Linked DNA regions of Homo sapiens: region 2 is linked to region 1. Evidence: promoter capture Hi-C in human tissues and cell types (Jung and others, 2019). All regions are on one chromosome and are shown on one strand. Each heading gives the region's core, a stretch centred on a gene start or on the middle of the fragment in contact. The rest is flanking DNA. Distances are from core to core; before and after follow the strand shown.

Region 1 (2,700 bases), core at 50-2,549:
CCCTTTATCCCCCTGCACCCTCCTGCAGGGGATGGCACTTTGAGCCCTCTGGAGCCCTCCCCTTGCTGAGCCTTACTCTCTTCAGACTTTCTGAATGTACAATGCCGTTGGTTGGGATTTGGGGACTGGAAGGGACCAAGGACACTGACCCCAAGCTGTCCTGCCTAGCGTCCAGCGTCTTCTAGGAGGGTGGGGTCTGCCTGTCCTGGTGTGGTTGGTTTGGCCCTGTTTGCTGTGACTACCCCCCCCCCTCCCCGAACCGAGGGACGGCTGCCTTTGTCTCTGCCTCAGATGCCACCTGCCCCGCCCATGCTCCCCATCAGCAGCATCCAGACTTTCAGGAAGGGCAGGGCCAGCCAGTCCAGAACCGCATCCCTCAGCAGGGACTGATAAGCCATCTCTCGGAGGGCCCCCTAATACCCAGTGGAGTCTGGTTCACACCCTGGGGGGTGTGTCACTGTGATGGGACACGTAGGAGTCCACCCTTAAAACCAGCACCCTGTCCCTCGAGGCTGCCGAGTGGGTGTGTGGACTGGGGTGCCTTCCCACAAAACTAGCCTCCGGCTCTGGGCCCGAGACAGCCGCAGGCCCCAGCCACTGAATGATACTGGCAGCGGCTGGGGTTTTATGAACTCCTTTCTGGTATTTTTTCCCCTCTATGTACAAATGTATATGTTACGTCTCAATTTTTGTGCTTAAGTAAAAATAAAAACATTTTCAGACAACACGGGTCCACATGTCTGGTGGACTTGGGAGGACGGGGCAGCCCACAGGATTAGGGGCTGGGCGCCGCTGCTAAGATTGGAGAGCGGGGACAGTTAAGATGCAATAAATAGGTCAAGGCCCTTCCTCAGAAAAGTGAAAAGCAGCTGGGAGGCCTGGGAAGCCAACGCGGCCTCTTCCAAAGGCGCCTTCTCGTGCCAGTAGCTCTCCTTTCAGAGCTGCGGGTCCTGGGGAGGGGCCCTGGGAGCCTCCCGGACGCCGTCGCCCCCACACACGCCCGCTCCGCCGCCCGCGCCCTCACGTGGGCGATCTCTAGACGCCTCTGCGCCCGCTAGGAGTCCCCGGAGACCACGCCGGCCGTCCTCCGTTGTTAACTTCTAGGCTCGCGGGGCCTCCGTATCCCCACGTGGGCCCTGCAGGAACTGGCGGGGCGCGTGACCCGGCGAGGCCCAGAGACAGGGGAGGGGCGCCGGGAGCCGGGCGGATCCGCGTCCCCGATGCGCGCTGCATTTCCGGCGGGCGGCGCTGGGGGCAGCGTGGAGCCACCCAGTGCTCGGCCCGCCCCGCAACCCGCCGGAACCGCCGCCCGCAGCGAGGAAGCGCCCGCGCGGGCGCAGGCGGCCGGAATGGCGGGGCCCGGCTGGGGTCCCCCGCGCCTGGACGGCTTCATCCTCACCGAGCGCCTGGGCAGCGGCACGTACGCCACGGTGTACAAGGCCTACGCCAAGGTGGGTGCCGGCCGATGGCCCCGTGCCCGCCCGAGCTAGCTCGGCTGGTGCCGGCCGGGGAGACTCTGAGAGGTTAGCGACAGTGTGGGAATAGTTAGGGGCGGGAGGCCGGCCTCGCCCCAGCTGACCCTCGGCGGAGGTTGGAGCCGACTGCCACGCTTAGGTCTTAAAGAGCGCACCTGCACCCACCTGCAGGGTCAGTGGCTGAAGAACAGGCTCAAAACAGGTTACCTGGTGGGCTGGGAGGAGTCTGGGACTGGAGCCAGTTGGGAGGCAGAGTGGGCGGTTCTAGAACCCTGAGTGACATGCCTCTGCCGGGAGCACTCCAGAATGCAAAGAAATGGATCAGCTAGCCGAGGGTTGGAGAAGACCAGGCTGAGGCTGTGTCGGGAAGCCAGGATTCCAGAATCAGCATTCCTCACTGGCCTCACAAGGGAAAGCTGGGAAGCCCGGTGCTGGTGTGCAGTAGGTAGACCCGGGGAGGGGCGGGGTGGGGGAACAGAGGGAACCAGATAGAGCCTTTCCAGTCAGACAAGGGTCCTGGCCCCCTCAAGGCAGAGTCCCCAAATCTCCTGTCTCGCAGAAGGACACTCGTGAAGTGGTAGCCATAAAGTGTGTAGCCAAGAAAAGTCTGAACAAGGCATCGGTGGAGAACCTCCTCACGGAGATTGAGATCCTCAAGGGCATTCGACATCCCCACATTGTGCAGCTGAAAGACTTTCAGGTGTGAGCCTGGGGCGGGGCCGCTGCCAAAGGGAGCTGGAGAAGGGACACTCTCTTCAGGCCGCCTCTCTGCCTCTAAACACAGTGGGACAGTGACAATATCTACCTCATCATGGAGTTTTGCGCAGGGGGCGACCTGTCTCGCTTCATCCATACCCGCAGGATTCTGCCTGAGAAGGTGGCGCGTGTCTTCATGCAGCAATTAGGTAAAGGCCTGTGACACCAGCCTGACACTCTGTCCCTTGTTCTCTGCCCCCCACCATCCCACCCCTCCCCCAGGCTTAGAGCCTTGGCACGCATTGCAGCTGCCTCCTGCACAGCCTGAAATTTTATGGTCCTGTTTATCTCATACACTCAACCCTTGCTCAAGGACGCTGTGGGAGAGATGAGGGGGTAACCCCTCTGTGGGGTGTTCAGGCTTCCATACATAGAACATAATATAAGGACCTTGTAGAACATTCCAGAGTCCTGTAGGTAGGACTCAAGTGCTGTGCCAAGGAAAAGAGCAGGATCTCAAGGGCTGGGG
Region 2 (2,700 bases), core at 48-2,547, 840 kb after region 1:
TTAACATTCACTGAGTATTTAATATGTGCCAGGCACTACGCTAAACAATTTATATGTACAGTTGGCCCTCAGTATCTGCAGGTTACGCACCCGTGGATTCAACAAATCTTGGATCAAAAATATTCAGGCGAAAAAAAATCAATTAAAAAAGTACCACAATAAAAAAATATACAAATTCAAAAATATAGTAAAACAACTCTTTACATAGCATTTACATTGTATTAGGCATTATAAGTAATCTAGAGATGACTTAAAGTATACAGGAGGGGATGGGTACAGTGGCTCACACCTGTAATCCCAGCACTTTGAGAGGCCTAGGGAGGGTTGCTGCCTGAGCCCAAGAGTTCTCAAGACCAGTCTGGGCAATGTCGTGAAACCCTGTCTCTACAAAAAATTTAAAAATTAGCTGAGTGTGGTGGTGCACACCTGCAGTCCTGTATAATCTGGTGGCTGAGGTGGGAGGATTGTTTGAACCCAAGAGATTGAGGCTGCAGTGAGCCACGAGTGCAGCACTGCACTCCAGCCTGGGCGACAGAGCAAGACCCCGTCTCAAAAAATAAAAATAAAATAAAAAATAAAGTATACAGGAGGATGTGTAGAGGTTATATACAAATACTATGCCATTTTATATCAGAGACTTGAGCATCTATGAATTTGAAACAGACTCCCATGGATCCCGTGGGATGGCTGCATTATCACGTTCAAAACATGAAAGCTTACAAATTCATTAAGAAATTAGTATAAGGCTGGGCATGGTGGCTCATGCCTGTAATCCCAGAACTTTGGGAGGCCGAGGCAGGTGGATCACCTGAGGTCAGGAGACCAGCCTGACCATTATAGTGAAACCCTGTCTCTACTAAAAATGCCAAAAAATTAGCCAGGCATGATGATGTGCACCTGTAATCGCAGCTACTTGGGAGGCTGAGGCAGGAAAATGGCGTGAACCCGGGAGGTGGAGGTTGCAGTGAGCCGAGATCGCGCCACTGCACTCCAGCCTGGGTGACACAGCGAGACTCCATCTCAAAAAAAAAAAAAAAAAATTAAAAAAAATTTTTTAAATCCAAAAGATAGAACCAGAGATAAAGCCAATTTCTCCTAATTTATTGCAATTTCAATCAAAATCCAATAAATATGTAAGTTTTAAAACTGCATAAATTGTAAGAGCAAAAGAAATGCATACATTTTTTTCTTTCGAGGAATTTGTTCCTGAATTCTTTAATTAGTCCCTTAATTCCTCAACGGAAACAACAACAACAACAGGCAAAGGACCTAAACAGGCCACTCGCAAATGCAGAAACACAATGGCCAATAAACAAGTGGAAAGCCACTCAACCTTTACAATAAGCTAAGAAACGTGGTGATACCAGCTGTTGAGGAGTCGGAGGGGAAAGCTTATTCTGATAGTGTGGGAAGTTTATCCTAAAGCAGGAAACAAATCACAGTCAGTTTAGCAGATATGTAGTTCAGCAAATATGTGGTTTAGCCATATATAGTTCTGAGTTGTCAAAAACCAGCGAAAAATGCTTTCATTTTGCAAGTGGATCTCTAAGAACCAAGAAGCGCCTTCTATGAACAATCTATTGCTAATGGTGAAAAGTTCACATAGTTATGCTACCTTTTTGGCTAAAAGAGGGAAAATAGGACCTGATAAGATTGCTCCTACCTGCATATATATTCGTAAAGAAACTCTCAGAAGAAACATTCAAAACTAGTAACAATGGCTACCTGTGGATGGGAAGAGGGAGAAGTGGTGGGAATTAGGCAGTTGGGCATGGACAGAAGATTGCACTCTCTCTCTCCTCTTTACAAATTTTGTTCGTGAACTGTACGAATGTATTACCTATTAAAAAACTGAGTTAAAATCTGTTTAATAAAAATAATTACAACTGGATGTGATTTTTTTTCCCCATACAGACATTCTCAGATAGCGCTGCCTGGTGTTAATGGTTTCAACTTTTCAGACAGAAACTAACTACTTGTCTCTGATCCTAGAATCCAGCCTTACTGAGATTCCGTGTCAGTGCTCTCGGAAAATTCCACTAAATTCTAAAGGGCAGTTTGGTAACATGTATCAAATGTAGAATTCCCGTCCCCCTACACCCAGCAGTGGCACTTCTAAAAATTTATCCTAAAGAAGTTACTGGATAAAGATGCAAAGATGATTCTGCAGCATTATTTATTACAGGAGGAAACTGGAAACTTACTATCCACCTGCGTGGGGACTGGCAGCATAAATTGTGGTCATCAACACGGACACTGCATATCTGCAGACCACATTTAGAGTTGCAAGGCCCCAGAAGCTCCTTGTCCTCAGCTGTGTGACTCTTTGGATCTTTGCTCCTCTCGCCCTCTACCTGGTACTTGGATGCACCACCCCACCCTGTGCCGGCCTACTCACCTGGTCAGCGTAGGGGTGCGGTGGTTGGGGTTGGAGCAGAAGATGTTGTTGGTCTTGCGGGTGCCGTCCAGGAACTCACGCACCGACTGGTTGCGCAGCTCTGCTAGGGGCCGGGCCTCGTGCTTGAGGAACCACTGGTGTGCCTCGAAGCACTTGGCGCAGAGGAGCTGCTCGCACTCAAAGCACCAGAAGTCGGCCGACTCTTTGCAGCGGGTGCACACAGCCTGCGCATCCACAATCTGCCGGTACACCGACAGGCGCCGCTGCAGACTCTCGAAAAAGACGTTATCCAGGGCGGGTGT

What was found. The method cuts DNA at HindIII sites, captures the fragments that hold promoters and counts their contacts. A contact is called where the count stands out against the background at its distance.
Region 2: a contact is called between a fragment that was not itself captured here and the fragment with the promoter of ULK3 in region 1, in 1 of the 25 tissues and cell types used here (dorsolateral prefrontal cortex).

What each region holds. Positions count from the first base shown.
Region 1 is chr15:74,841,755-74,844,454 of GRCh38, reverse strand. It overlaps ULK3 (unc-51 like kinase 3), which reads left to right and starts at 1,299. Exons shown (of 16, transcript NM_001099436.4): 1 at 1,299-1,451; 2 at 2,035-2,175; 3 at 2,260-2,380. The coding sequence starts at 1,350. SCAMP2 (secretory carrier membrane protein 2) reads left to right here. Exons shown (of 9, transcript NM_005697.5): 9 at 1-725. RefSeq lists a silencer at 818-1,537 and enhancers at 800-1,711, 1,780-2,305. The HindIII fragment of the contact is 11,414 bases long and covers 1-2,700 here.
Region 2 is chr15:73,998,175-74,000,874 of GRCh38, reverse strand. It overlaps PML (PML nuclear body scaffold), which reads right to left. Exons shown (of 9, transcript NM_033238.3): 2 at 2,399-2,700. Among named protein-coding and RNA genes, the nearest start is that of PML, 4.8 kb to the right of the region's middle. The HindIII fragment of the contact is 4,698 bases long and covers 1-2,700 here.